4 separate regions of the Homo sapiens genome follow, and regions 2, 3 and 4 are each linked to region 1. Evidence: promoter capture Hi-C in human tissues and cell types (Jung and others, 2019). All regions are on one chromosome and are shown on one strand. The core of a region is centred on a gene start or on the middle of the fragment in contact, and the rest is flanking DNA. Distances in the headings are between cores, read along the strand shown. Region 1 holds the start of PSMC6 (proteasome 26S subunit, ATPase 6). Region 2 overlaps TXNDC16 (thioredoxin domain containing 16). Region 3 overlaps GPR137C (G protein-coupled receptor 137C). Region 4 overlaps FERMT2 (FERM domain containing kindlin 2).

Evidence for each region. Contacts are between HindIII fragments. The study calls those that stand out against the background at their distance.
Region 2: a contact is called between a fragment that was not itself captured here and the fragment with the promoter of PSMC6 in region 1, in 1 of the 25 tissues and cell types used here (mesenchymal stem cells).
Region 3: a fragment that was not itself captured here is called in contact with the fragment with the promoter of PSMC6 in region 1 in 1 of the 25 tissues and cell types used here (small bowel).
Region 4: a contact is called between a fragment that was not itself captured here and the fragment with the promoter of PSMC6 in region 1, in 1 of the 25 tissues and cell types used here (mesendoderm cells).

Annotation. Positions count from the first base shown.
Region 1 is chr14:52,705,781-52,708,480 of GRCh38, reverse strand. PSMC6 (proteasome 26S subunit, ATPase 6) reads right to left here and starts at 1,281. Exons shown (of 14, transcript NM_002806.5): 1 at 1,177-1,281; 2 at 93-172. The coding sequence starts at 1,261. RefSeq lists enhancers at 921-970, 991-1,240, 1,541-1,600, 1,621-1,730. The HindIII fragment of the contact is 7,628 bases long and covers 1-2,700 here.
Region 2 is chr14:52,451,279-52,453,978 of GRCh38, reverse strand. The region is part of intron 18 of TXNDC16 (thioredoxin domain containing 16); the gene reads left to right. Among named protein-coding and RNA genes, the nearest start is that of TXNDC16, 100 kb to the left of the region's middle. The HindIII fragment of the contact is 7,351 bases long and covers 1-2,700 here.
Region 3 is chr14:52,571,983-52,574,682 of GRCh38, reverse strand. The region is part of intron 1 of GPR137C (G protein-coupled receptor 137C); the gene reads right to left. Among named protein-coding and RNA genes, the nearest start is that of GPR137C, 20 kb to the right of the region's middle. The HindIII fragment of the contact is 7,349 bases long and covers 1-2,700 here.
Region 4 is chr14:52,916,497-52,919,196 of GRCh38, reverse strand. FERMT2 (FERM domain containing kindlin 2) reads left to right here. Exons shown (of 15, transcript NM_006832.3): 3 at 1-74. The region is part of intron 2 of LOC105370500 (a long non-coding RNA gene); the gene reads right to left. Among named protein-coding and RNA genes, the nearest start is that of FERMT2, 33 kb to the left of the region's middle. RefSeq lists an enhancer at 469-578. The HindIII fragment of the contact is 5,591 bases long and covers 1-2,700 here.

The sequences.
Region 1 (2,700 bases), core at 32-2,531:
AAGGAAGAAAATAAAAAGCATTACTTTTTGGCAACAGCTAAATAAAAAAGCAAATTACCATCACCCCCTATTCCCCAAACTCCATCACCTACCTGCCCAACACTCTGTAGGGCCTTCAGATCATTTTCAGACTTTTCATACTGCTTGGTAAGTTCTTTTAATTGTTCCCTTACTGAAATAATACAATTTGAACATTTTTAATTGAACAGTAATCTTAGTGTGTTTAAGTCGCTACGTCTCACTTTACTGTTTACGTAAGTCTACTTCACTTTACCTAAGTTTCACATCCACTGTTTCAAACCATAAAAGAAATAATGCTGTTTGTAATGAGTAGGTGGCATGTATAACAACAAAATGTTACAGAGAAAGCACCATACTTTTACTTTGTTGATCGGCAATACTTGTTTAAGCACATCTTAAGTTATAGTCTTAGAAGATATTGACACCCTGACACTTAGGATTTGCGACTACAAATCCGAATGATAATCACTTAGACCCTTCCTCACCTCTTCACCTACCCACGTGGATTGTTCTCTGACATTCTACCCTAAATAAAGTCAACAAATGCAGTTCTCCACAGAATCATGTAATTATGGTCCTCCATTTAATTAAACTACTCATGCTTTTCAATGAAAATGCACTGGAAAAAAAAGTTAAGCACTCAGGAGGTAAGGGAAATTTGTATGCCTGATACAGTACAACACGAAACACAAGACGATATGGGTTATTATGACAACTGGAACACTTCTCTCTTAAGCTCCGCGGCCGTCTTTCGACTCCAAGAACAAGCCGACTCCCTGAGTCTCATCTCTTGTTTGAGCTTACTTGACTCAAGCGCCTTCCCCTCTCCAAGTCCCGGGACTCCACCAAGACTGCCCTTCTTGCACCCTAACCTGGGAAACATCCTCGGCCCACTTCCCCACTCCTCCTCTACTTCTTTTTCATTTTCACCTCAAGGCCGCCGATGTTCTGTCACCCGGGCTGGACTGGGCCATTTCTACACCCGAAGGAGTGCTGCTCCACAAGCTCAGGGCCGGATGACAAAGCGCCTTGTCCCTGGCCCTAGGCCTGGTCATCTCTAAGGCTCGGTTGCCGGGCTCGGCGAAAGGCTTCTGCTTTGTCAGAGGCAGAAGCGAGTCGAGGCACTTGATTAAATGGAAAGAAAGGTGCACTCACACTCCTTAAGACGGCCGTCGATCTCCTTGTGTTCAAGCAACTTCTTGCGGTAGTCCTGAAGCGCCTTATCTCTAGGGTCCGCCATGATGAGAAGCCGTCTCTCATAGGGGATGCCGGGAATGGCCATGGCCGTCCGGGCGGGGGAAGGGGCGGGGCGAGGGGCGAAACCCTGCCTGGAGGGGTGGGTTCGCCCATGAGCCCTCCCCTTCCGGTTGGCCCCGTCTTTCTACTCCACTTCCACCTCTATGTCTCGGTTCACCTAGAGCGCCGGCATACACTGAAAGAGGCCTCCACCTATACCGTTTCTTGCAAGCCGAGATAGGTAAAGCAGGACTCAGTTATCCCGGTCTTCCCCTGAGAGGCCTCAGTATTAAGTCACTGCTGTCCCGGAAGTATAAAAGGCTCTGTAATAAACTGAGATGGAAGTGAAGTAGGAAATGTGTAATACCTCAAAGGAGTTCCGATGGCCTGTCGACACAACACAGATGGCCTTTGTTATAACACAGTACTGTCCAAGACCTCCACGTGCTGGAGAAGTAGACAGTTTTATTCATCCATTCAGTCAGTGAATGAGGTATTAAAGGTAGATCTGCTTATCATTTGATAGGAAATAATAATAAAAAAAACTTCAGAGTTTAACAAATACTGTGAAGGAATTAAAACACGGTGAGAAGTATGGTGGGAAGAATTAATCTAGAACAGATATCTGAGATGAGAAGGAGCCAGCCTTGCAACAACTGAAGAAAACCTAAACAAACAGTGCAAGTCCTGGAGTGGAGTGGGGTGGGGGTTGTGGGTAGAAAGCTTGACTCACTTCCAGGAACAGAAAGGAGGCCAATGAGACCAGTAGGGGGTGGGTTGTAGAGATGTGGGGTACAAGATAAAGATGCTGAAGTAGGCTGAGGCAGGAACTTTGAAGTCTGATAGAACCTTCAGATTTATGTATTTATTTATTTACTTTTGAGATGGAGTCTTGCTCCTGCCGCACAGGCTGGAGCGGTGACGCGATCTCAGCTCACTGCAACCTCCACCTCCCGGGTTCAAGCAATTCTCCTTCCTCAGCCTCCGGAGTAGCTGGCATTACAGGTGTGCGCCACCACAACCGGCTAATTTTTGTATTTTTAGTAGAGACGGGGTTTCGCCATGTTGGCCATGCTGGTCTCGAACTGCTGACTTCAGGTGATCCACCCTCCTCAGCCTCCCAAAGTGCTAGGATTACAGGTGTGAGGCACTGCGCCCGGCCAGATTTTTTTTTTTTTTTTTTTTTTTTTGAGTCTGTGTCTCACTCTGTCACCCAGGCTGCAGTGTAGTGGTGCGATCTTGGCTCACTGCAACCTCTGCCTCCCGGGTTCAAGCGATTGTCGTGCCTCACCCTCCTGAGAAGCTGGGATTACAGGCGCCCGCCACCACGCCCGGCTCATTTTTGTATTTTCAGTAGGAATGGGGTTTCACCATGTTGGCCAGGCTGGTCTCCAACTACTGACCTCAAGTGATCCGCCCGCCTCAGCCTCCCAAAGTGTTGGG
Region 2 (2,700 bases), core at 118-2,617, 250 kb after region 1:
ATACTGGCAAATACTAGGTCTTCTTTATTCTTTCAAACTAGTTTTTGTACCCATTAACCATCCCTACTTCCCCCCTCCCCACCATTTCCAGTTAAAAAGGCTTTTTTTATCCAAAAGATAGGCAGTAGCAAATGCTGGTGAGGATGTGGAGAAAAGAGACCTCTTGTACACTCTTGGTGGGAATGTAAATTAGTACAACCAGAGGCTGTACTGGGTTTTGTATATGGTGAAAGATAGCAGTCTAGTTTCATTCAGCATATGGATATCCAGTTTTTTCAATAGTCCTCTTCCACTACCCTTCCCAGCTTCTGGTAACCATCCTTTTCTCTATCTCCATGAGTTCAATTGTTTTAAGTTTTAGCTCCCACAGATAAGTGAGAACATGTGCTTTTTGTCTTTCTGTGCCTGGCTTATCTAATTTAACATCATGACCTCCAGTTCCATTCATGTTGTTAAAAATGACAGAATCTCATTCTTTTTTTTATGACGGAATAGTATTTCATTGTGTGTATGTACCATATTTTCTTTATTCATTCATCTGTTGATGGACCCTGAGGTTGCTTCCAAATCTTGGCTGTTATGAATAGTGCTACAATAAATCTGCGAGTGCAGATATCTCTTTGGTATACTGATATTCTTTTGGGAATGTACTCAGGAGTCACATTGCTGAATGGTAAGATATGTCTATTTTTAGTTTTTTGAGGAGCCTCCAAACTGTTCTCCATAGTGGTTGCACTAATTTACATTCCCACTGAGAGTATACGAGGGGTCCCTTTTCTCCACATCCTCACCAGCATTTGTTATTGCCTTTTGGATAAAAGCCATTTTAACTGGAATGGAATAATACCTAATTGTAGTTTTGATTTGCATTTCTCTGATGATCAATGATGTTGAGCACCTTTTCATGTACCTGTTTGCTGTTTGTATGTATTTTTTTGAGAAATGTCTATTCAGATCTTTTGCCCATTTTTTAAATCAGATTTTTTCCTACTGATACAGAGTTGTATCAGTTCTTTATATATTCTGGTTATTAATCCCTTGTCAGATGGGTAGTTTGCAGATATTTTCTCCCATTCTGTGGGCTCTCTCTCCACTTTGTTGATTGTGTCCTTTGCTGTGCAGGACCATTTTGTCTTGATGTGATCCCATTTGTCATTTTTGCTGTGGTTGCCTGTGCCTGTGGGATAATATTGCTCAAGAAGTCTTTGCCCAGTCTAGTGTCCTGTAGAGTTTCCCCAGTGTTTTCTTGTAGTAGTTTCATAGTTTAAGGTCTTAGATTTACGTCTGGAATCCATTTTGAATTGATTTTTGTATATGATGAGAGATAGGGGCCTAGTTTCATTCTGCCTATGGATATCCAATTTTCCCAGCACCATTTATTGAAGAAATTATTCTTTCCCCAATGTATGTTCTTGGAACCTTTGTCGAAAACGAATTCACTGTAGATGTACAGATTTATTTCTGCATTCTGTATTCTGTTCCATTGGTCTATGTGCCTGTTTTTATGCCAGTACCATGTCACTTTGGTTACTATAGCTCTATAGTATAATTTGATGTCAGGTAATGTGATTCCTCCAGTTTTGTTCTTTTTTTGCTTAGGAATAGCTTTGGCTATTCTGGGTCTTTTGTGAATCCATATAAATGTTAGAATTATTTTTTCTATTTCTGTGAAGAATATCATTGGTATTTTGATAGGGCTTGCATTAAATCTGTAGTTATTTTGGGTATTAAGAACATTTTAACAACAGTGATTCTTCCAGTCCATCAACATGGGACATCTTTCTATTTTTGTGTGTTCAGTTCAGTTTCTTACATCAATGTATTATAGTTTTCATCGTAGAGATCTTTCACTTCTTTAGTTAATTCCTGGGTATTTAATTTTACTTGTGGCTATTGTAAATAGGATTACTTTCTTGATTTCTTTTTCAGATTGTTCACTGTTGGCATATAAAAATGCTGCTGATTTTTGTATTTTGATTTGTCTTGCAACTTTACTGAATTTGTTTATCAGCTTGAATAGTTTTTCGATGGAGTCTTTAGTTTTTCCAAATATAGGATTATATCATCTGCAAACAAAGATAAGTTGACTTCTTCCCTTCCAATTTGGATGCCTATTATTTCTTTGTCTTGTTTGATTGCCCTAGCTAGGACTTCCAGTACTATGTTGAATAATAGTCATGACAGTGGGTATCCTTGTCACGTTCCAGATCTTAGAGAAAAGACTTTTTCCCCATTCAGAATGACACTAGCTGTGGCTATGGCATATATGGCTTTGTTATGTTGAGGTATATTCCTTCTGTACCCAGTTTTTTGAGGGTTTTTTTAATGAAGGGATGTTGAGTTTTATCAAATGCTATTCAGCATCAGTTGAAATGATCATATGGTTTTTGTCCTTTATTGTGTTGATATAATGTATCACATTGATTGATTTGTGTATGTTGAACCATCCTCGCATCCTTGGGGTAAATCATACATGGACATGATCAATGATCTTTTTAATGTATTGTTGAATTGGTTTGCTAATATTTTGTTGAGGATTTTTGCATCAATTGATATTCATCAATGATATTGGCCTGTTGTTTTCTTGATATGCCTTTGTCTGGTTTTTATACCAGGGTAATACTGGCTTTGTAGAATGAGTTTGGAATTACTCCTTTCTCCTCTATTTTCCAGGATAGTTTGAGTAGGATTAGTATTCAT
Region 3 (2,700 bases), core at 92-2,591, 130 kb after region 1:
AGAACGTGCAAGTTTGTTACATAAGTATACATGTGCCATGGTGGTTTGCTGCACCCATCAACCTGTCATCTACATTAGGTATCTCTCCTAATGCTACCCCTCTGCTAGCTCCCCACCTACCGACAGGCCCCGGTGTGTGATGTTCCCCGCCCTGTATCCATGTGTTCTCATTGTTCAACTCCCACCTATGAGAATGTGCAGTGTTTGGTTTTCATTCCTGTGTTAGTCTGCTGAGAATGATGGTTTCCAGCTTCATCCATGTCCCTGCAAAGGACATGAACTCATCCTTTTTTATGGCTGCATAGTATTTCATGGTGTATATGTGCCACATTTTCTTTATCCAGTCTATCATTGATGGGCATTTGGGTTGGTTCCAAGTCTTTGCTAATGTGAACAGTGCCACAATAAACATATGTGTGCATGTGTCTTTATAGTAGAATGACTAATAATCCTTTGGGTATATATCTAGTAATGGGATTGCTAGGTCAAATGGTATTACTGGTCTAGATCCTTGAGGAATCGCCACACTGTCTTCCACAATGGTTGAACTAATTTACACTCCCACCAACAGTGTAAAAGTGTTCCTATTTCTCCACATGCTCTCCAGCATCTGTTGTTTCCTGACTTTTTAATGATTGCCATTCTAACTGGCATGAGATGGTATCTCATTGTGGTTTTGATTTGCATTTCTCTAATGACCAGTGATGATGAGCTTTTTTTCATATGTTTGTGGCCACATAAATGTCTTCTTTTGAGAAGTGTCTGTTCATATCCTTTGCCCATGTTTTGATGGGGTTGCTTTTTTCTTATAAATTTGTATAAGTTCCTTGTAAATTCTGGATATTAGCCCTTTGTCAGATGGATAGATTGCAACAATTTCCTCCGATTCTGTAGGTTGCCTGTTCACTCTGATGATAGTTCCTTTTGCTGTGCAGAAGTTCTTTAGTTTAATTAGATCCCATTTGTCAACTTTGGCTTTTGTTGCCATTGCTTTTGGTGTTTTGGTCATAAAGTCTTTGCCCATCCCTATGTCCTGAATGGTATTGCCTAGGTTTTCTTCTTGGGTTTTTATGGTTTTAGGTCTTACGTTTAAGTCTTCAATCCATCGTGAGTTAATTTTTGTATAAGGTGTAAGGAAGGGGTCCAGTTTCAGTGTTCTGCATATGGCTAGCCAGTTTTCCCAACACCATTTATTAAATAGGGAATCCTTTCCCCATTGCTTGCTTTCATCAGGTTTGTCAAAGATCAGATGGTTGTAGACATGTGTCGTTATTTCTGATGTCTCTGTTCTGTTCCATTGGTCTATATATCTGTTTTGGTATAAGTACCATGCTGTTTTGGTTACTGTAGCCTTGTAGTATAGTTTGAAGTCAGGTAGCATGATGCCTCCAGCTGTGTTCTTTTTGCTTAGGATTGTCTTGGCTATATGGGCTCTTTTTTGGTTCCATATGAAATTTAAAATAGTTTGTTCTAATTCTGTGAAGAAAGTCAATGGTAGCTTGATGGGGATAGCACTTAATCTAGATATTGCTTTGGGCAGTATGGCCATTTTCACGACATTGATTCTTCTATCCATGAGCATGCAATGTTTTTCCATTTGTTTGCATCCTCTCTTATTTCCTTGAGCAGTGGTTTGTAGTTCTCCTTGAAGAGGTCCTTCACATCCCTTGTAGGTTGTATTCCTAGGTATTTTATTCTCTTTGTAGCAATTATACATGGGAGTTCTCTATTATTGGTGTATAGGAATGCTTGTGATTTTTGCACATTGATTTTGTATCCTGAGACTTTGCTGAAGTTGCTTGTCAGCTTAAGGAGATTTTGGGCTGAGACAATGGGGTTTTCTAAGTATACAATCATGTCATCTGCAAACATATACAATTTGGCTTCCTCTCTTCCTATTTGAATGTCCTTTATTTTTCTATCTTGGCTGATTGTCCTGGCCAGAACTTCCAATACTATGTTGAATAGGAGGGGAGAGAAAGGACATCCTTGTCTTGTGCCAGTTTCAAAGGAAGTGCTTCCAGCTTTTGCCCAATCAGTATGATATTGGCTGTGGGTTTGTCATAAATAGCTCTTACTGTTTTGAGAAGTATTCCAACAATACCTAGTTTATTGAGAATCTTTAGCTTGAAGGGGTGTTGAATTTTATCAAAGACCTTTTCTGCATCTATTGAGATAATTATGTGGTTTTGGTCATTGGTTCTGTTTATGTGATGAATTATGTTTATTGATTTGCATATGTTGAACCAGCCTTGCATTCCAGGGATGAAGCCCAGTTGATTGTGGTGGATAAGCTTTTTGATGTGCTGCTGGATTTGGTTTGCCAGTATTTTATTGAGGATTTTCACATTGATGTTCATCAGGGATATTGGTCTGAAATTTTCCTTTTTTGTTGTGTCTCTGCCAGGTTTTGGTATCAGGATGATGCTGGCCTCATAAAATGAGTTAGGGAGGAATCCCTCTTTTTCTATTGATTGGAATAGTTTCAGAAGGAATGGTACCAGCTCCTCTTTGTACCTCTGGTAAAGTTTGGCTGTGAATCCGTCTGGTCCTGGGCTTTTCTTGGTTGGTAGACTATTAATTATTGCCTCAATTTCAGAAGTTGTTATTGGTCTACTCGGGGATTTGACTTCTTCCTGGTTTAGTCTTGGGAGGGTGTATGTGTCCAGGAATTTATCCATTTCTTCTGGATATTCTAGT
Region 4 (2,700 bases), core at 185-2,684, 210 kb before region 1:
GAAGTATGTGAAGGTGAAAGTGAATTTCTCTGATAGAGTCTTCAAAGCTGTTTCTGACATCTGTAAGACTTTTAGTAAGTATTACATAAATTCTTCTTAAAATACGAGTTATGTGATGTACAGATGACCGATGACTGACATAGCTTATCCCAAGGGATGGGGCATGGGCTGAACTATCTGTATATATGTATGTGTGTGAAATTTCTACTTCATTAAAGTTTTTATATTAAGATAAATGCTGGGTTAAGGTGGAACAGGAAGAACCTAGTAGAGATTCTTTCCTTACTAGAATTGTATCTGATATTTAATACTTTATTTTTATGGAGAGGTTAAAGGAACAGGCACTATTTTCAGGGGAACATACATGGCTTTGCAATGTTTCCTTCACATAAGTCACTATTTGATTTTAGTGATTCAGGCAGATTGTGTCACTTCCTCCATTGAAGGCCTGACACAGCTCCTAAGGAAATGACTATGAGTGTTGTCTTCCTTCACCAGTCTACAATTTGAACATCTCTGTAGTATTTCTATTTATGCATTCTGAAATGAGATGTGGGTTACTTTGGCTGACCCAGTTATGTCATATGACAGGAAGTATTCAACCATCTGAGAAAATGTGAACTGCTGTCACTACCACTAGTGCAGAACTCTGCTGTATTTTTTCCTATTTGAGAAATTCTTGGTTAAAGATACATTTAGTGACTTCTCATATTTTAATTCCAAATAAAGTACTGCAGTTTTTTATTCATGTTAAATTTTTAAATTATACTAGTAATTTATAAATACACTCTGTTGTAAAAGAATCAATGAATATAGACATACATAGTAAGCTCCCCCTTCCCCTAAGTAATCATTCTTGACAGTTTGGTGATTTTCTATGCATTTATTTGTCCATACATATCGGATTTTTTTTAATAAATAGGAGCATTTTATATGTATTTTTTAAACTTAGTAATGTCTTAGAGATCTTTCTATGTGTTATACATTCTTTTAAGCTGTAATTCAGAGTATAGACGTACTATTAATTTACATCCAATTACTTCTTGGCCTTTTTGGCTAAGATCAAGTATAATTTATAACCACATTTCCCTGTTAATGATCAGTTAGGTTGCTTCACTCTTAGAGCAAATGCTGCAACATTTTCAAATGTTTTAAATATTGCTGAAAACATTTGAAAATATTTTAGTTGGGCTAGCGCCAGAGTACCCAATCTTCCTTGCTGGTGTCAGCACCCACACTCACTGCTAGAGCCTGTGGGCAAATGCTGCTCCTGTACAATGCCTCAAGCACTGACCTGTGGACAGTATGGAGGTGCTGAGACTACCTACCTCTTAACCCAGAGCCCTGCCTGCTGCTTATGCCTGTAGGCTTGGAGCTTGGAGGAGTCTGAATCCTCACCCATTTCTTGTGTTTAGTTTGGGCTGTGGCTTCCCTTAAACCAATACCAACTTTTTTCTGTCTTCAAGAATCACTCATTATTTACCCTCTTACTGTAGTTTCCTGTCTCCTAGCACTGTTATGGATGTTCATCTTCCCTCCCCGCCTACAATTTTTAAATATCTTTTGCTGTCATTTCAGGGGATTCGGGATGTAGGAGGGGAGATACAGGTAGATTCACATTGCCTTTTTGATCTAATGCCCTTGAAATTTTTTTTAAAGTGAAACAGGGTTTTTATTATTATTATTAAAATAGAGAAAAATACAAAGAATACCAAATTCCCATTATCTGGAATTAATAATTGTTGATATTTTGTCATTTTGTCAAATGACAAATATGACTTGAAGTCAAAGTAATACTGGTAAAATTCTTGAGTCTCATTATCCTAACTTCCCTTTACAAAGCAACTACTATCATAAGTTCAGTGTGTATCCAGTACTGTAAAATACACAGACACACACATACACACACACACACACACACACACGTATCTCTGTGTGTATATATCCATAAACTGTATATGTTATTGCCATTACCACGTAGGTATTTTCTTACTAAGTTTTGTACGTGTGTGCAAGAATTTCTCTCGAGTATCCACCTAGAAGTAGAAGTAAAATTGCTGTTTTAAATATATACATAATTCATTTCAGAGTACTGTCAAATTGTCTCCCAGTTGGTTATACCAGTTTATATTCCAACTAGCAATGTATGAAAACCCGTTGCCACAAATCCTCACTAACACTTGATTATGGTCTGTTTTGTTGTTTTTGTTTCCAAGAGAAAAAGACAGTATTTTGTTTTAGTTTACAAAGCTAAATATGTTTTTAAATCATTATTGGACATCTAAGTTCCTTTTTTTAATTGTTTATATCATTTGTCCATTTTTGAGAAATTAATAAACTGTAGTTTTTACAGGAGTTGTAGGTTCACAGCAAAGTTGAGCAAAAGTACAGAGAATTCCCACATACCCTCTGTCCTCACACATGCACAACCTTCCCTACTCTCAAAGTCTGTACCAGAATGGTACATTTATTGTAACTGGTGAACCTACCTTGACATACCATTATCACTCAGTGACAGTAGTTTATGTTAGGGTTCACTTCTGGTGTTGTACATGCTGTGGGCTTGGAAAAATATATACTCGTGTATCTACTGTTGTGGTATTGTACAGAATAGTTTGACTGTCCTAAAAATCTTCTGTGCTCTGCCTATTCATCCCTCTCTCCTCATCACCACCACTCATCCTTTTACCTAGTTTTGCC